Regions from separate parts of the Homo sapiens genome. Here regions 1, 2 and 3 are each linked to region 4. Evidence: promoter capture Hi-C in 16 types of primary human blood cells and fetal thymus (Javierre and others, 2016). All regions are on one chromosome and are shown on one strand. Each heading gives the region's core, a stretch centred on a gene start or on the middle of the fragment in contact. The rest is flanking DNA. Distances are from core to core; before and after follow the strand shown.

Evidence for each region. The method cuts DNA at HindIII sites, captures the fragments that hold promoters and counts their contacts. A CHiCAGO score of 5 or more calls a contact.
Region 1: a contact is called between a fragment that was not itself captured here and the fragment with the promoter of C2orf68 in region 4, in 1 of 17 cell types (monocytes). The highest score is 5.0, in monocytes.
Region 2: a fragment that was not itself captured here is called in contact with the fragment with the promoter of C2orf68 in region 4 in 1 of 17 cell types (monocytes); the score reaches 6.6 in monocytes.
Region 3: a contact is called between a fragment that was not itself captured here and the fragment with the promoter of C2orf68 in region 4, in 3 of 17 cell types (monocytes, erythroblasts and M0 macrophages). The highest score is 12.5, in monocytes.

Annotation. Positions count from the first base shown.
Region 1 is chr2:85,741,499-85,746,203 of GRCh38, reverse strand. No RefSeq gene overlaps it. Among named protein-coding and RNA genes, the nearest start is that of ATOH8, 10 kb to the left of the region's middle. The HindIII fragment of the contact is 1,868 bases long and covers 1,921-3,788 here.
Region 2 is chr2:85,788,660-85,793,501 of GRCh38, reverse strand. It overlaps ATOH8 (atonal bHLH transcription factor 8), which reads right to left. Exons shown (of 3, transcript NM_032827.7): 3 at 2,119-4,842. Among named protein-coding and RNA genes, the nearest start is that of MIR6071, 7.4 kb to the right of the region's middle. The HindIII fragment of the contact is 890 bases long and covers 3,094-3,983 here.
Region 3 is chr2:85,807,240-85,812,119 of GRCh38, reverse strand. No RefSeq gene overlaps it. Among named protein-coding and RNA genes, the nearest start is that of MIR6071, 26 kb to the right of the region's middle. The HindIII fragment of the contact is 4,468 bases long and covers 688-4,880 here.
Region 4 is chr2:85,609,828-85,614,677 of GRCh38, reverse strand. C2orf68 (chromosome 2 open reading frame 68) reads left to right here and starts at 2,612. Exons shown (of 4, transcript NM_001013649.4): 1 at 2,612-2,800; 2 at 2,892-3,010. The coding sequence starts at 2,694. It also overlaps a transcript of USP39 not described here. RefSeq lists silencers at 2,112-2,284, 2,771-2,840, 2,460-2,841 and an enhancer at 2,271-2,500. The HindIII fragment of the contact is 26,854 bases long and covers 1-4,115 here.

The sequences.
Region 1 (4,705 bases), core at 1,605-4,104, 130 kb before region 4:
TCCTGTGCCCTGTGAGATTCTGTTTCTGCAAAACAATATTATTCATCATATTAACCTGTTTGTTAAAGTGAATTTTGATCACCTTTGTAGTTTTGCTTGTATTCATTTATTAATTTGTTTTGGGCTTATAGTTATATAAGAATTAAAAACATAAAGTACAAGAGCATAATTCTGATCTTAGGGTTCTGGGACAATGTGTTTCCTTTTGGGACGAGGGCATATGTTACTCAAGTTCAAGAAGCTCTGGGCTGGACACTCTCTGAGTTTTCTGCACCTCTGACTTAGTGGTCTGGAAGTTGAGAGATGCATTCTCTTCCCAGGACCAGCTCGGTACCCTTCGGCATCTGCCTCCCCTGTCCTCTATCTTCCCCCTCCCGCCCCACCGCAAGCCTCAGCCTCTTCATCTGTAAACGGAGAAAAGAGAGGGGGAGCTGGAACCCACAGATCTCAAGCTCTTCCCATCCCTAGTGTCTTAGGATTTGTCTTAAGCCTCTTAAAAACCCCAGAGCACAGCAGTGGGGAAAAGTGAAACATTCACCCGTGAGAAAGTGAGCTCCCCTGCATGCCTAACATCCATCGCAGGCAAGAAAAACTGTCTCCCAGGGCCTCGATGAGCCCAATGAACATCAACGAGGGATGAGCCGGGAGGGCAGACAGTGAGCAAGCTGCTCATTAGGGCTCTGCTCATCAGGACCTAGTTGTCAACAGCCTAACCAGGCTTGGCTTGAGCCAGCGATCTCCTGGGAGCTGTTAGCAATCCCTGCAGATGTGCTTTGCGGCTAGATGTGAAGTTAGAGTGTGCTGACTTCTTCTTCATCTTCTTCTTCTTTAAGGAAAACAACTTTCAGTTCCCCAAGGAGCACATTCCTTCATTGTGAGGTCTTCCCTCCGCATTTCCCCATTCCCTCAGAAAAGAAAGGAAGCAAAAAAGCCTTGGCTGCTGCTTCTGTGTAGGCTCCTCAAACAACAACAACAAAAAACTATTTTTGCAGCTCTCTGAAAAAGTCCCCACTGATGGCAGCAGCCAGAGAACATGAGGGGGCAGAACAGAGCTGACGCAATGCACATTTATTAGCAGTGAGGAAAATTAATAAGGCACCAGCTCGAGGGCAGCCCCACAGACCTGGATGCCCCAGGGACAGCTGTAGACCTGGTGGTCCCCAGGCTGAGTCCTCAAGATGCCTAATCAGTTGCAATTCTAGATCAGCACAGCTGGAGGGAGGCTTGGAGATCATCTAGTCCAGAGGACAAATGCTTTTTATCACGCATGCCAAATCTAATTGATTGGTAGAGGCTGCCTGAAGCTCTGTGTTGAAAAGGATCCTGAGGCTGCATCTGGGTCCCTTTGGGAATGAGTGCTATAATTGATTAGCAATGTCTGCCATGGATGAAAGAAAAGGAGTGGCAGGATTCACACCATGTGTTTGCCACTCCTGGTCTAGTTCGATCCTGCCTTTTTTTTTTTTTTTTTTTTTTTTTGATGAGAGAGACTGAGTCCTGACGCCCGTTGTTGGTAGGGTTTTTCCCAGCCTTCTCAGGAATCTGACTACTGTTGGTCAGTGGCAGGTAGCCTGAATGTCTCTGAGGACTGAAGATGTCAGATCCAAAGACTGTCTCCAAAAAGCCAGAACAACTGCTGATTTTAGTTAATGCTATAAACTGCCTGTTTCCTGGAAATAATCGGTAAAATTAGTTGTCTCGTGGAATCGACTGGTCAGTTCAACCAATGTAGGTGATGTATCAGGCCCAGGTAAGCCCCAAGCCAGTGTCTACCTAACGTTAGTGCTCAGTTTGGCCAAAAAGAGTTCATGGGGGAGGCTAACCAACTATCTGAGCTCAAGACAATAGAACTCCCAAGTGGTCAACAAAGTTGTTCTAATCAGATGGATCACTGGCCGTCTGATTACTACCAGACAAGCTTGAGTCAAGGTGTTCTAGCCACCCTGGCCAGGACTCTACCTCCCTCACCATCATCTCCTCCTGCCCTTCCAGCCTGGCTTCTTTCCTTTCCCCTTTTGAGCCCGTGACAGATCCTGCTTCCTCTGCCAGAGAATCCTTCTGCAGTGGGCTGAACACCTCGAGAAAGTCTTCCTGACTGACCCTTCCAACACCTGCAGATAGTTCCACTGCCTTAGAGCCTCTCCTTCCATCTGTGACAGCTCAAAAACCATTCAGGCCACTCCTCATTTTAAAACTGAGGAAACTGAGGCTCAAGAATGGACATGGCTCACTTGATATCACACAGGAGGTAGACTGTTGACTTTAACCAATTGCCCCCCACTCAGTTGGCTCAGGTCTCCTGATTCCAACTCCAGGGTTGTGGTGGCTGCCTGGGGAAAATCCATTCTGTCTGGTTCACTGAGTTTCGTGCGTGACTCAGAACAACACAGATAACTTCTGAGGACTCCTGGAAGTGGGCGGACCTTCACTTTGGGGTGGCAAAGAACTTGACATGTGATGGGGGTGTGTGGGGGAGTGTGAGGGTGGCGTGGGTCATTGGTAAGGGGGGTAGGCTGCAGGAGAGGGCTGACCTGATATGAACCCTGGGGGGACTGCCAAGGGGCCCAGCCACTACCTCCTGGGAACAAGGAAACAAGGTAGTTTATCTCTCTGGCTTCGGAGCGTTTGTCACACTGCCCCCTGGAAGTCTACCCTGGCATCTTAGGTCCCCAACATTCCCCATCTTGAATTCAACAATCCTCTTTTGAGTGGGGCAGGGAAAACAAGCCCTTCCACAAGGAACTCGGCTAAGTGAAAAGTGGCCCTCAGCGGTGGTGGACAGAGCCCAGGCTTTGGACAAGGATGGTCCCGAATTGACCCTTGGCTCACCACCTACAAGCTGGGAGTTTGGCTGAGTTCCTTGATCTCACCGGGCCTCAGTTTCCTTGTTTGCAAAGCTAGGATAGAAAGATTACTGGCCCTCATAGGGTTGTTGTGAGGATTAAAGGGAGATTATCAATGTAAAGGGCTGAGCACAGGGCTTGGCAGATGGCAGCTAATAACTGCACCTTGAACGTCTCTCCTCTCCTCTCAGTGCAGTACCATACATGCTTCAGGGCTCTGATCCTACCACACCTCCTTCAGGAAGCCTTCCCTGGACACACTCAGCCCAGAGGAACACACTCCGCTCTTGGGAACTTCCAGGCTCACCTGCCAGTGTTCTATACTGAAAGCCTTGTTTCTCCAAAGAACCCACAGATCACTGGGGGCTGATGTGGTTTGCAGCCCTCCTTGCTCCTGCAGGCTCCCAGCTCAGAGCTGAACACACAGCACATGCTGAATAACATGGCTGCTCAAGCTCCTGGCACCCTCTCCCCGCCCCAGCCCACCTTATTCCCCCAGATCCCCTGATTTTCCAACCCCCTGTCTCATTTGTTCCTAATGCTTCTGTCTCCATGTCTCCAGAGCTCTGTTTGCATGAGGGAAAAAACTCTACATACACACACACACACACACACACACACACACACACACACACACACAGCCCAGAAAGCATCCAGTTGCTCCCGGGCTGGCTGCCAGCGATTGAGTGACCTGCAGCTTCCTCCCCAAATCACATTCCACTGGCACGGATCTTGCCCCGCCTGACGCCAGCCTCCGAACTCGCCCCCAGAGCAAACATTTCCAGTTGGCAGCTCGGCCTTGTTTTTCTGAGGCCCTGATTCGGGCTCCCTTGTAGAAAACAGAAAACAAAATGCATTGGACCAAAAATGAAATGAAATAAATTTTAAAAGGATGGAGGGCTGGGGGAAGGCATTTGCTCCAAGTCACATGGAAAAATAGAAGCTTCAGGGTGTACAAATAGCGTTTAAGAAGCAAACACACATGCTCACCATCCCCCCATCCTGCTGGCTTTGAGGCTGTGATCAATTCATTCAGGCTGCTGCCTCCCGCTAAAAGACTTACTCTGTTCTCATTCACAGCTGCGAGGGGAGGACCCGGGAGAAGGGTGGTGGGAGACCACAGATCTGAAAGGGGAGGGTGATCGGGGTTACAGGACTGTTGTTTGTTCCAAAGGGGAAATTAGAGGAAGAAAAATAAACATGGCCAGCCACATTTTAACCCCAGTGCGCGAGGAGTCCGGGGATGGACAGGGTATGTGTGTGCGTGTGCTGGCGTGTGCACATGCCTGTGGGCGCCGCCGTGTTTGCCTTCTCAAAATAAGAGCTGCTCAGTGGAAAGATGTCATAACCCAGGCTCAGGCGGCAGGGGGACGGGCCAGCCAGGGGGGGCAAGGCTGGCGCCCAGGCCTGCCCATGGGGTCAGGCAAAGGCCGGGTGTCAGAACAGGGGAGCTGTGAGTCAAGGGCCAGGCGTTTGATGCCGAAGGTCAGCCCCCAGCTGGGGCTCAGTCCATGGGGAAGAGGTGGTCCGAGGAGCATTGCTAAGAAAGGATGAGCTCATGGGATGTGGGGCTCATCTCAGCAAAGGAGGGTTGTGATGTGGGGAGGGAGGCCCCAGGGGAAGTCCATGGAGGTGGAAGGGACTAGGTGAGGTGGCAGGGTGAGGAGGAGGACAGAGAGGTGGTTAGCTGACCCCAGAGTGAGGGCAGTTGGCCACCAATCTGGCTGGGTCACAGAGCTGAGGAGCAGGGCTGCAAAGCACCTCCTGCCCAGGAACAAGGATGCTGGGAGGTGGCATGGGAAAGGAGACAGGGATCCCAGGACTGAGAGAGCATGCGGGACCTGGGCTGAGATGTAGGGTCC
Region 2 (4,842 bases), core at 2,289-4,788, 180 kb before region 4:
AAACTTGCTGGTTTTGTTCTATTTTCTTCTCCAAAAATGGAGATTCCTTTCCTGGGATTTGGAAACATTTTTGAGCTCTTTATTTAAAAAAAGAAAAAATGTGTGTGTGTGTGTTTGTGTGTGTGTGTATCATGTGCATGTGTGTGCCTGCCAGAGGGGAATTCTCTAGAAACTTCTGGTTGTGGTGCTGGAAATGAAATCCCAAAGGATGAAAGCATGTTGTCTGTGGGCCAGATGGCTTTGGAGGTGGTTGGGGGCACAGGCTTGGCTCTGCCGGTTTCTTGGGGAGGGGGCAGGCTCTGTCCTGGCCTCACTCCCCGCTGTGTGGCCCATCTGCTGCCTTTGGACAAGCCTTGGTGACAAGAGAGCCCGGGGAGAGGCTGGCTCGTCCAGGGAGGTGCATCTTTCCTCCTGGAGGTGAGATCCTGGATACTTGCGCGGCCGAGGGTGGGTGAGCGCCCTCACCAGCTGCTGTATTTGCTCATAGTCTATCCATTAGCCACCATATTGGTGGTGATGGGCATGAAGGGGGGCAGGGGAAGATGTTAGAATGAAGAAAAAATACTAGATTTAAGTGCCAGCTGTGAGACAACCTTGGGTGAGTCACAGCCCAGAAATGTAGCACCAGGGAGTGAAGCCAGAAGGGAAAAAAGTTACAACTGCCAGAAACATGATGAACCTGTCAAAAATACATGAAATCAGCTGCATAAGTTAGGAAGTAAAAGGCAAGGTCCTGTTTGTTTTTTCATGCATGTAAGCATTTAAAAAGATTCATCAGGAATGGAAAAAATAATTCCTCTCCACACCACTGCCTTGGGTGAGGGATGTTTTGGGGAAACTGAGGAAAGGTGTGTGTGTTCCCTTGAGGGCCACAAAGTAGAGAGAAGGAGGAAGCCATAGGGAGCCCCTGAGCAAGAGATGAATTCAGTGGGCCCCAAAGATCAAAGCCAAGGATGTAAGTCCCTCGAGAATCCTCAGAGACACGGGCAATGCCGGGCTGGCTTCCCACTGAACATGGCGTGGGAGTGGAGATGTTTTTATTTATATGTGAAAAGGCAAGATGAGCCCCGAGGGCAGAAGGGCGGCCATCTAGGTTGTTGCTGCCAGGTTAAGTAGGGCCTCTCTGTCCGCCCCAGGTTCTGGGATTGAAAGAACTAGAGTTCCCCGGGGACCCAGGCGCTAGGCGGGATACAACGCCGGGTAATGTTAGGACAAAAAGAAACTGCTTCCTTTGCAGCAAACATTAAGATCAGAAAGAATCTTGTTTCATGGGCAGCCAGAGAGAAGGACACAGGGCCACGGCTGAGAAAGAGGGGCTGTTAATGATATCTCAGGATGGGATTTGGCCACCACCCCCAGACGGCCAAGCTGTGGGCATGCCCAGACAGTGGCGACAGGGAGATGTTGTGGACCTGGAGGGCACACAAGACCATCATGATGGTCAGCTAAGGAGCCTGGGCTGTAGTCTGGAGGCAATGGGCCCAGGGAGGAAGTTTGGAAATAAACCCCTATCAGCCATGGCAGAGGCAGGGTTGGAAGTCACAGACCATTGACAGAGAGGCCAGTCAGGAGGCAGCCACATGGCCCGTGAGCAACAGTGAAGTTGAAGCTCCTGACATCACCTCAAACACGCCATGCTGGGGTGGCCCGAGGAGGCTGGCCCACTCCAGGGAGGCCACGGGACCAGGGCGGCAGAGGGAGCTCATCTCTCCGATCCATTAGTAGTAACTGCTTGGAGCATTGTCTGGAGCGGAATTCAGGCAGTGTAGGAGCCCCTGGAGAAAAAGAGCCACTGTTGATTAGTGATGTCCGAGGCAGGGCTGTAAGGAGGCTTGGCGGCATTCATTCACTCATCTACACATTCAGTAACTGTTCATTCAGTGCCTGTGTGCCAGCACGTGTGCTGTGATGCTGTCCTCTTCGCTCAGTTCTCAAAGACTCGGCCACATAAAGAGCAAAAAGGTCCAAGGCCAGGCTTCTCTCGGCTCTAAGCCCCTCTCCCTTCAAGCCTCTCCGAAGCCATATAAAAGATCACCTGGCCTGGGTCCTGTTTTCCCCAGGTCTTGAACAAATTAGATGCTTGGGAGTTATTTGTGGAAGGAAGAAAACAAAAATGAGTGAATTACCACATTTTCCATGTTTTATTCATTCATTCAGCAAAGAAACCAATATATACACTTTGCAAGAAAGCCGTTTCGAGGATCAGGGGTTGAATTAGATCCAAACTTTGATCTCCAGGAATTCATAGTACCATCTGAGATTAGACACGTACCCACAGTTCTGGAAAACACTGTCATTGTTTGTCTATCAAGTTCCTCAGGATGCCTGGCTTCAGGGAGGCAGGCATAGTTTGTCTGGGGTCCGGGTCACCAGAAGGGAGACATGTGGGAGGGCAAAACCTGGGGGCAAAGGGAGAAGCCAGCTGCTCCTCACAAAGCAGGGACCCTGTGCCCCGCTGTCTTCCTGGAACCAGGAAACAGAAAGCAGCTGTGAAGGTGGCAGGGCAGCAAGAGAGCAAGACGAGAACAACGGTACAGATCCACTCAAAGGGTTTCCTTGGAGATGTCTGAGTCTTGCTGTTTGTTGCCTGGGATGCTGGCAATGACCACTTCGTGGCTCAGGAAGCAGCATAGGAGGGAGGCAAGTGTAGCCCCAACTCCAGTCCCCTCGCCGGCTTCCCACGGCTGACCACAGCGCGGCCCCTGTCTTATCCTAATTAGCTGCACCTATGCCTCCGTCCAGGCTCACCGGCAAGCTCTTGAGCACAGAGGAGCTCTGTACCTGCAGCTCCCAACACAGTCCCTGCACATGGCAATGCTACCCAGTTCCCAGCCCCTGGGACCTGCCTACTCATGCCTCCACTAGCTGTGAGAAAGGGGAACTTGGTGGAGGTGGAGAAATCCAGAAAAAAAGAGAACAGCACAGAGCCTTGAAGGATGTGGCCATGGAGACAGGAAGGAGCATAGTGTGGGGGGATGAACACTTGCTCAAAACCTCACCTCCAGAATTTAACCCTCTCTTCTGGGATAGTCTCAGGCCAGACCCAGGAAGCAGCACAGTCTGTGGGCAGTCTTTGGAGAGTCTTGCAAAGCTTGGCCTGTGAGCTGAGATCTCCAACTCCCAGAGCCATTCCTTCTGGTTTTGTTCTGCAGAGAGCAGGAGGCTGGCACACACACACATGAAGATGGGTGTGCACACGTGGGGCTTCATGCAGACATACCCAGGAAGATCTTGCGGGTCCCTGGAGAGGGCCCCCTCATCCCTTTATGGCCTGTGCCTGGTGACCCAGAGCAGACAAGACAAGGAGAGTGTGCTACAAACATCCACAGGTGACTCTGTGACCACAAACCCAAGGCTGGACTGCAAAGTGCTTTCACAGGGCCCCATGAGGGCAGCTCCTCGTCATTTATATTTTGCTGAGGGTCTCCTTGAATGGCTGCTTGCATAAAAGTGTTTAGAAGACTGCCGTTGGAATCTGAATCTATCTGAAATGTAATTCCATTTTCTGGAAATGTACACGAGTGTGTGTGTGGGTATGCATGTGCCCATGAGAGAGAGTATGCATGTGTGTGCATACGAACACAAGTTGCTGTGCTGGAGAGGAAGCTGGGAAAGGAGAGGAGAGCATGCACTTTTAGTCATCCACATACATACATATGTGTGCACACACACACATCCACCCAGAGCCTGTCTCCCAAATCGATGGCTCAAAGTCACTTTCTTATCGTAGACCAGACCCCACTTAGACCAGCGGCTTCAACCTTGCCTGCACATTAAGATCACTTGAGGAGCTTGTAAAAATCCCAATGACCAGGCAACACCCTAGACCAATACATCAGAATTTCTGGAGATGAAATTGGGCATCAATACTTCATATCAATATTTAATATTTAATAATCTCCTTGGGTGATTCCAATTTCCTGCCAGCGCTGAGTGCTCCTCTGCATAGAAAGCCCTTTTCCTACTCCCCTGCTCAGAAAGCTTTTACTCACCATTTAAGACGCAAGTCCCATGGCTACTTTCCAGGGAAATCCTTCCTGAGAACCTCCCCAAGAGTTAGTTCTTCCTTTCCTGAAGCTCCCGACAACACCTTAGTCATCTGCTATAATCATAATTATTTGCTTGTCTACCTGTCTGTCCCACCCTCCGTACAGAACCCAGAGCTCCGTGATGCCATGCATGACACAAGATCCATCTCTTCATTCCCACTGCCTATCTTAGTGTCTGACAGGCAGCTGGTCATCAATGATGCTTCAGAATGAAAGGGAAACATGTAATGAAGTATGTATGCAGGAGGGGGATGGGAGGTGGAGGATGGGCTCTTTCTGGGTGGTAAGGCCATGGGTTTGCTCCCTTGGCAGCAGAATGGGGTACACTCCCTTTGGTAATAGAAATGGTCTTCTATGTCAACAGTTTGATGCTGGTCAGTCCACATGTCCTGCTGCCTTAGGAAGTGCCATCAGGGTTACTCAGAGGCTCCGAGGGACAACAGAGCAGTGCTGTTATCTGTGCCAGCTTCACAGGGTGGCTGAACCTTCCTAACAGACCCTCCTGGCCCCATTCCATGCCCACTCTGTCCAGTCTGCTTCCAGAGCACCTTTGCTCTGAGGAGTGCTCAGGGCCACCTGGGTCCCCTGTTTCTGTGCCAGCCTAGGGATCCAAGACAGCATGGACACTGTGGTCCTTGGTAAAGGGCCAGCCTGAGAAACGCTACTGCAAGGGGGGCTCCCTGCAGCCAGCCCCAGCCCAGCCCAGGAGTCTGAGCAGCAGAGACGAGAAAGTGACACTGGTGAAACCAAGGGACAAACTGTGTCCTGTATGGCTGCAGCCTCCGGTCCCCTC
Region 3 (4,880 bases), core at 1,672-4,171, 200 kb before region 4:
ATTGATTTGTAGGCAGCACTTAGCATGTGCCAGGCTCAACATGATGCTATCACTATTAATCCATATAAATACTAACAGCTACCACTTAGGGAGCACCTACTATGTGCCAGGCTCTGAGCTAGTTCCCCACCTACATCATGTCTTTAACCTCCAAGGTAACTTACCATGATCACGCCCATTTTACAGATGAGGAAATAGAGGCCCTTGCCCACAGTACAGTCATAGTGCTGCCAAGTGGGGAGCCGGGTTCCCACCCAGGCCTGCCTAACTCCCAAGCCCAGGCTCTGAGGATCCAGCATCCGACAGCTGCATCTTTCTGCAGGGGAAGGGGCCTGGGCCATGCAGAGTGTGTGGTTTATGGACCACAGGGATTTCTGAACCCAACTTTGGGCGCATGTGTGCCTGGCACGTGGGGGCAGGAGAAAAGCTTAGTTCCTCCCGCCGAGCCTCAGCTCACACACTCCGCAGACCCTCCTGCGCCCACACCCAGGAATCTTGGTTTTAGGCGACACATCGTGATGCCTGCTAAAAGCAGAGCAGGGAAAAGGAGCCCTTAAACAGTCCAAATGTGTCCCTCGCCGCGCCTGATTTTCCCAGAGCCCCGGCGCGCCCAGACAGAAGTTGTGTACACAGGATTTTAGTATTTCCTCTCCGGCTCCAGCCCCAATTTGAGGGCCTGTAAAAGCTTGAATGGCGTCCAGTGCGGCGTGGTTTGCCTAAGCTCGGCTCCCGGCGCTGAGTCAAAGCAGCCCACACAGGGACCGGGGCGCCTGCTAGGGGGGTGGGGGGCGCCTGCGGGGGCGGGGGGAGGCCGGGGGCGCCCACACCCACGTCCAGGCCCAGCCGCCGCCTTCCAGCCGCCGGGGCTGGCCCTGCTGCGGCTGAGCAAACCTGGTGACTCGGGGTACACTCGTGGCGGGAGGCAAGGACGTGGTTGCATGACCCCTTTCCTCCCCCTGCGCCTGGGAACCTCTCCCACTTCATTGGGGTGGGGGCGGGGGGTGCTCCGTGTGGCTCAGAGGCTGCTTCAGATGTCTTCTCTGAGGCTGAGAGGCTCTTCCAGTCCCTGATTTTTAAACATGCCTCCAGCACCCCTCTCCCTGCCAGGAATCATCCAGTACAGTGCCCAGACTGACCTGCTGTGTGAGTCTAGGTAATTCACTCACTCTCTCTGGGTCTCAGTTCCCTCATCTGTAAAACCAGGGCGGGCCTGGGCTCCGTCTCTGGCTCCTGCCAGACCCAGCACCTTGGAGTCTAAGAAGATTAGGAGCCACCTGGGCTGCAGATAAGGTGCCCATGCTCTCTGGAGGGGACAAAGGTTGGTGGGGGTTGGGGGATTTTCTCCAGGGGCTGTGACACCACGACACCCACAACCAGCCAGTAACGGGAGGAGTGTGTTTCAGGGTCCAGCAGATCTAGGGGCAAGTGGCCAGGTGTGAAGGTGACAGCTGGGGAAGCTCTGAGCCCCTCACTCTCAGGAGCCTGGGATCCCTGGCACCCTGAGGCGCAGTGGCCTCTTGTCCACACAACCCATGGGTCAGACAAGGCCTGGGCCTGGCACCCGAGGAGTCACGGTAGGCACATTCGGCCATGCTGCACAGCCTCTGCTCTGCAATTCCCAGATCCAAAAGCTCGGAAAACCAGCCGTGCGTGCATGCGTGTGAGCACGTGTGTAATGTCTAGGGCTAAATCTGACCTGAACAGAACTCATTTGGTGACTTGAAGTGACACAAGATAATTTTAGTCTGTATTTATCTCACTCCTTGGGAGTATTTATACCTTACATTTGTGAATATTAATTACATTAAATGTGTTTGATGACAGGGTCTGCCCCACATCCTGTTGGGGGAGGGAGAGTTACCTAATAAACACCACAACCCTAGACAACTTTTCTAACTCCCCTTTAAAAAAAAATACACATCTTTGAAACTTCCTGGCCCCAAGGGTTTCTGATAAAAAGCTGTGGACCAGTGTAAACGATAAAAGTGACAGAGCCAGAGAAATGTCAGTGGCAGTGATTCAGGTGGTTCTTCATGTATTCCATGCAATGACACTCTGGGGGATGGGATCTGCTGGCCCCTCAGCCCATCGGGAACATGTTGCAGGACTAAGAGTGACTTAGGTGTTTAAATATACGAATGCTTATGATCCCCAAAGCAGATTTCTTTATGGGTGGCTGAAGGGATTTTTTTTTTTTTTTGAGACATGGTCTCAGTCTGTTGTCTAGGTTAGAGTGCAGTGGCACAATTATGGCTCACTGTAGCCTCAAGTTCCCAGGCTCAAGCAATCCTCCCACTTCAGCCTCCCGATGAGCTGGGACAGGCGCACACCACTATGCTCAGCTAATTTTTGTATTTTTTGCAGAAAAGAAGACTCACTATGTTGTCCAGGCTGGTCTCGAACTCCTGAGCTCAAGTGATCCATCCGCCTCTGCCTCCCAAAGTGCTGGGATTACAGGTGTGAGCCACCGTGCCCAGCCAGGATTCTTTTGGTCTCATTTTGTAGTAATTACAGATCCATAGAAAGGTGCAAGGAAATGTACAGGAAGGTTCCATGCACCCTTCACCCAGACTCTGCCAATGTCTTGATAAATTACCATAGGACCATATCAAAACCAGGAAACTTGGTATAGTCCTTAGAATGTATCCGGATTTCACCAGATATATGTGCACTCATGTATGTGTGTATGTGTCTGGGTGTGTGTTGCTCTTTGCAATTTTATTATATGTGTAGCTTTGTGTAATTTGTCTTTGACCCTGTTAACAGGATCTGTTGCAGAGCAGAAGTTTTTCATATAGGATTTTTTAATGAGGCCCAAGTTATCAATTCATGATCCATGTTGAACCAATTTTCTTTTGTGGATCATGCTTTTGGTATCAGGAATAAAAACCCTTTGTCCAGCCCCAGATTCCAAAGATTTGCCCTTATGCTTTTTCAAGTTTTATAGTTTTGTAAAGTCCATTTACGTTTGTGATCCATTTTGAGTTAATTTTTGTATGGGGTATGAGGTTAATTTGAGGTTCATTTTTAGCCAATGGCTATCTCCAGTGGCTGGAGGGATTCTAAGAGCCATTTTAACCACTCTGTCTTTGCTTTAAGAACACTACTTTCAGGTGAAAAAAAGGAGGCCCAGAGAACTAAGACAACTTTCCCAAGGTCACTGTGGTTGTCATGAATGCATTCCCTACTCTCTGTCTTCCAGGCCCGTGGTAAGATCACACTCAGGGCCCCTCTGTGGTAGGGCAGGGCCATGAAACTGGCCCTGGCCAATTTGTTGTGAGCAGAAATTATGTGAGTTTCTCCCAAATCAGGGCATTTAAATGTCATAGTGAGGCTGGACACAGTGGCTCACCCCTGTGATCCCAACAATTTGGGAGGCTGAGGTGGGCGGATCACTTGAGGCCAGGAGTTTGAGACCAGCCTGCCAACATGATGAAACCCCGTTTCTACTAAAAATACAAAAATTAGCTGGGCATGGTGGTGCATGCCTATAATCCCAGCTACTCTGTAAGCTGAGGCAGGAGAATCTCTTGAACATGAGAGACAGATGTTGCAGCGAGCTGAGATCACGTCACTGCACTCCAACCTGGGCCATTGAGTGAATAAGAGACTGTCTCAAAAAATAAATAAATAAATAAATAGTAAGGAAATGCCACAGTAAACCCTCCAGATCTCTTCTTTCCCTCTCTCATAGCAAGCAGCAAGTTAGAAATGGTGGCTGCTCCATCAGCCTGGATCCCAGAGTGGAGAGACATGGAGCAGAGCCCCTGTGAACTGACGATGGACATTCAGAGTGAACAAGAAATACATCTTCGTGTTTAAGCAATTATACTTGTCGGGGCATTTGTTACCACGCATGACTCAGCTTATCACCAAGTTGGATTTTGGAAGAATCCAGGTCCTCCTCGTTCCACGGTAAATGCACTTTGCTAGGAGTTTTCATATGACCTTCCCATCTGTCCTCAAGAGTCCTCATGGCTTACTATCATGTGCCACAAGAAGAGACCAGCAAGATGGGTTAGATGGCTTTCCAGGAGCCTTCTGTGCTACCAGAATACCAGGCTGTAGACAGCCTCTGTTCCCAGGACCTCTGTGCCAGCTCAGCTCAGAAACGGTCAGTAGGGAACTCAGTGATGGTGCTCTCGTCCCACTCTGCTTAGCACTAGCCACTGCCCCCACCCAGGGCCTGGATCTACTTCAGAGGGCCCCTCTGGGATGGACAGGGATGAACTGGGACCCACTGAGGCAGAGGCCTGGAATGGGAGTGGGGAAACACAGTGGGGCTTCATAGTGTCAGGTCCAGAAGGCAGGATGTCTGAATTCGTGCCATGCACCAGGAGTTCCTATGGCAGAAGATACACCATCTCTGGCCATGTTTGGGGACATGCTTCTGCCTATCAATATCTATTTCCCCTTCTTCCTTGTAACAAACCCAATTCATTTGGAATGGAAATGGGCCTGGTCCCACAAAGAGGCTCCACTGAGCATGACAAGCCTGTTCCTCAGTTCCCCAGCCCCCTTGCACCCAGGATAGGGCCATAAGATATAGGTGGAAGCTGGCAGGGGGTGGGGTGCAAATGTCAAGTAAAACTGGTTTCCTGACAAAAGGGTGCAGCTGGTATGGCCCTCTCTTTCCACCTTTCTGCCTCTTGGTTTTCTTTTAAACACAGACACGATACTTAGAGTTGTACCAACCACATTAAGACCATGAGGAGAGGCCATAAGAATCTCAGAGTTGTCGAGTTACCACAGCAAAGTCAGCAACCACCATTTACTGATTTCTTATTATGAGAAAAAGGCACCCCTGTGTGATTAAACTTCTAGAACCAGGTTTCCTGTTACCTGCAGCCAAATGCCTTCCTAACTGGTACAGTGCCTAC
Region 4 (4,850 bases), core at 1,363-3,862:
TATCACAAACCCTTGTAGCAGAGCACATCTCCCCATGATCTTTTTATCCTATATATAAACAAGCATTGTAGCCATGGTGGATGCGTTCCTCCTTTTACTTTCAGGAACGCCCTATTCTGTCAATGGAGTAGCTGTACTTTCACTACTTTACATTTTATTTTTTTGATACAGAGTCTTGCTCTGTCACCCAGGTTGGAGTGCATTGGTGAGATCTCGGCTCACTGCAACTTCTGCCTCCTGGGTTCAAGTGATTATCCTGCCTCAGACTCCTGAGTAGCTGGGATTACATGCACCTGCCACCATGCCCGGCTAATTTTTGTATTTTTAGTAGGCACAGAGTTTCACCATGTTGGCCAGGCTGGTATGGAAGTGCTGACCTCAAGTGATCCGCCCGCCTCCCCTTCCAAAGTGCAGGGATTACAGGCATAAGCCGCGACACCTGGCTACTTTACTTTCTTAATAAACTTGCTTTTACTTTGCACTGTGGACTCACCCTGAATTCTTTCTTGCACAAGATCCAAGAACCCTCTGCTGGGGTCTGAATAGGGATCCCTTTCCTGTAACATATACACCCATGAAGCCATCACCACAATCAAGAGACGGGATCTGGGCCCAGTACGGTGGCTCACACTTATAATCCCAGCACTTTGGGAGGCCTGAGGCAGGAGGATCACTTGAGGTCAGGAGTTCAAGACTAGCCTTGGCAACATAGAGAGACCCCCCCCATCTCCACAAAAAAATTTTAAAATTAGCTGGGCATGGTGGCATGCTATTCAGGAGGCTGAGGCAGGAGGATCGTTTGGGCCTGAGAGGTGGAGGCTGCAGTGAGCAGTGATTGCACCACTACAATCCAACCTATGCGACAGTGAGATCCTGCCTCAAAAAAATAAAAAAATAAAAAAAAATTTAAAGAATCTACCCAGCCCCAAAGATATCCTCTTCCTCCCAGAGAACCCCCACAAAAATCAACTGATCTCTCGGTCACTATAGATTAGTTTGCACTTCCTAGAGTCTCATATAAATGGAATCATACAGAGTCCCTGGCCTCTTTCACTGGGCATATTTATTTTATGATCCATCCATGTTGTTGAGCTACAGATCTTCCTTTGGATTGCTCAGTAATATTCCATCGTGTGGCTGGACCACCATTGGTCCCTGTTTTTTGTTTTTGTTTTTTGTTTTTTGATTTGGAGGTTGGACTGCAGTGGCTCGATCTCGGCTGACTGCAACCTCCGCCTCCCGGGTTCAAGCGATTCTCCTGCCTCAGCCTCCCAAGTAGCTGGGATTACAAGCACCGGCCATCAAGCCCAGCTAATTTTTTGTATTTTTTTTTAGTAGAGACGGGGTTTCACCATTTTGGCCAGGCTAGTCTCGAACTCCTGACCTCTTGATCTGCCCGCCTGGGCCTCCCAAAGTGCTGGGATTACAGGCGTGAGCCACCACGCCCGGCTCTTTCTTTCTTTTTTAATGTATTTTTTTCTTGTAGAGACGATGTCTCGCTGTGTTGCCCAGGCTGGTCTCAAATTCCTCCCTCCAGCGATACTCCCACTTCGGCATCCCAAAGTTTTGGAATTACAGACATGAGCCACTGCATCCAGCCGTTTGTCCCTGTCCTAATCATGAATTCCTGATTTTGACTTTTGTAAAAGGACTTGAGAATTTTACACGCTGTGACGTGAACCCAGTGGTCAGAAAAAATAGAAAAAAAAAAAAAAGGGGCCGGGCACGGTGGCTCATGCCTGCAATCCCAACACTTTGGGAGGCCGAGGCAGGCGGATCACCTGAGGTCAGGAGTTCGAGACCAGCCTGGCCAACGTGGTGAAACCTTATCTCTACCAAAAATACAAAACTTAGCCGGGCGTGGTGGCACGCGCATGTAGTCCCAGCTACTCGGGAGGCTGAGGCAGGAGAATCGCTTGAACCCGGGAGGCGGAGGTTGCAGTGAGCCGAAATCACGCCAATGCACTCCAGCCTGAGCGACAGAGTGAGACTCCTTCTCAAAAAGAAAAAAAAAAGGAAAAATAAATAAAAAAGAAAATAATACACCCGTAGGTCCCTCAAAAACCCTGGGTCCTCCCGCGGGGACAGTTAAGCCATCGGCGCCGTGAGCAGGAGGCAAGCCGGGCCAGGAGAGCCTTCGCGGCGCCTGCGGCCTGGGCGCCGCTGTTGCCCTGCCTGAGCACTTCAAGGCCTCACAATCCATTTGAGGTAGGTGCTCTAGGTGTTCCCATTTACTAATGAGGAAACTGAGAAGTGGCAGCGTTACACAGTCAGCCAAAGTCACGCAGATGGCGATGGATTGCACAGCATCCTATTACCAGAAAAAAGATGGGAAGGCACCGCCGTAAGCATCGAGTTGTGTTATAGATGATTTGCATTTTTCTGAAGGTTCTGGTATCAGCTGTAAGCCGAAGTCCTTGTTTCCTATTGATATGTTACGAAAAAACAAACAAAAAAAAACAAAAACAAAAGCCCTCCGTCCGGGGGGTGGAAGTCAAGCATACCCTACTCCACCCGACCCGACCAGACCCGAAAACTCCGTGCGCTGCATCGCTTGGCCAGGCCGGGGCCTCCCAGACCGGAAGTCAGGATGCGGGGCCGGAAGCTGAGCAAGGGGCGGCGCGGAGCTCTGTGGGCGGGTGGCTGTTGTTGGGGCCGTCGAGGCGGCGGCGACTCTGCGTCCCCGGCTCCTGATGGAGGCGGGGCCGCATCCCCGGCCGGGGCACTGCTGCAAGCCTGGGGGGCGGCTGGACATGAACCACGGCTTCGTGCACCATATCCGACGGAACCAGATCGCTCGGTACCGCCCCGCCCTGCGCCGCCGCCGCCACCACTCCTGGCCTGGCCTGGCCCGGCCCGACAGTCCCTGACTCCCGCTCGGCTCCCCGCAGGGACGACTATGACAAGAAGGTGAAGCAGGCGGCCAAGGAGAAGGTGAGGAGGCGGCACACGCCCGCGCCGACGCGGCCCCGCAAGCCAGACCTGCAGGTGTACCTGCCGCGACACCGAGGTGAGGCCGCCCGCCCCGCCTGCCTCCAGCCCGCGCGCTCTTCCTGCAACGCACTCCCCTTCTCTATAGGGAAAAACCACTTCTTACTCCTAAGGTTCAGCTCATCTCGTCTCTTTCCGGAACCTCCACCTCAGCGCTCCCAAATCTCCGCTGAATGATTCTCACCAAGAACTGGGACGACTCATAAGCCCCCAGTTAAGCATCGCTGTCAGAGTATCGGGGAGCCAGCAAGAAGTTTATCTGCCGGTTTGCCCCACCGTGCTGTATTTTAGTAAGGTGCTCCGCTACCTAGCAAAGAGAAAGTCTGGCACAGCGATGAGCGACCAGCACATAATTGCGGAATGAACCCAGTAAATGGCCTTTCCCCAGCTTCTCTGCTACCTAGAGATCACACTGGTTAATATATGACGGTCAATTTTTGTTAAGCATTATTACTTTTTTTAAAATGTTTTTATTTTATTTTTGAGACTAGGTCTCTGTCGCCCAGGCTGGAGTGCAATGGTGCGATCTGGGCTTACTGCAGCCTTAGCCTCCCGAGTACCTGGGACCACAGGCGTGTGCCACCACACCGGTTAATTTTGGTATTTCTTGTAGAGAAGGGGTTTCCCCGGCTGGGCGCGGTGGCTCTCGCCTGTAATCCCAGCACTTTGGGAGGCCGAGGCGGGCGGATCACGAGGTCAGGAGATCGAGACCATCCTGGCTAACATGGTGAAACCCCCGTCTCTACTAAAAATACAAAAAATTAGCCGGGCGTGGTGGTGGGCGCCTGTAGTCCCAGCTACTCGGGAGGCTGAGGCAGGAGAATGGCGTGAACCCGGGAGGCGGAGCTTGCAGTGAGCCGAGATCGCGCCACTGCACTCCAGCCTGGGCAACACAGCAAGACTCGGTCTCAAAAAAAAAAAAAAAAGAGAGAGAGAGAAGGGGTTTCTCCACGTTGTCCAGGCTGATCTCGAACTCCTGAGCTCAGGTGATCTGCCCGCATCGGCCTCCCAAAGTGCTGGGATTATAGGTGTGTGCCACTACCTTTGTTAGGCATTAGTGAAAGTGCTTTTAGATCTTACGTATATTAATTCATTGAGTCTTTATACAACCTCATAAGAAAGCTTCTGTCTGTTTCACAGTCAGGAAACAGGCACAGAGAGGTTAAACAACTTGCCCAAGATCTCAGCTAGTAAATGGCAGAGCCTGGATTTGAACCCAGGCAGAGCTCTATCCACCCTTCTGCTTTCCAGTACTTTTTGCTAGACAAATGTGCATTGTGTACCTACTGTGTGACAGGATTGTGCTGGCCTCAGAGCAGGGATGCAAAGGTAAATAAGTCCTTGATTGGCAGCACACCAAATGCTTACACTGGTCCGGGCGCGGTGATTCATGCCTGTGATCCTAGCAGTTTGGGAGGCCGAGGTGGGCGGATCCCTTGAGGCCAGGAGTTCGAAATTAACCTGGACAACATGGTGAAACCCCATCTCTACTAAAAATACAAAAATTAGCCAGGCATGATGGCAGGCGGCTGTAATCCCAGCTACTTGGGAGGCTGAGGAAGGAGAATTGCTTGAACCTGGGAGGCAGAGGTTGCGGTGAGCCGAGATTTAGCCACTGCACTCCAGCCTGGGCAACAGAGCAAGACTCCGTCTCAAAAAAAAAAAAAAAAAAACCACTTACACTGGACCCATAAGAAGATTGGGGCAGCTGGGTGCAGTGGCTCACGCCTGTAATCCCAGCACTTTGGGAGGCCAAGGTGGGTGGATCACCTGAGGTCAGGAGTTTGAGACCAGCCTGGCCAACATGGTAAAACCCCATCTCTACTAAAAATATGAAAATTAGCTGGATGTGGTGGCAC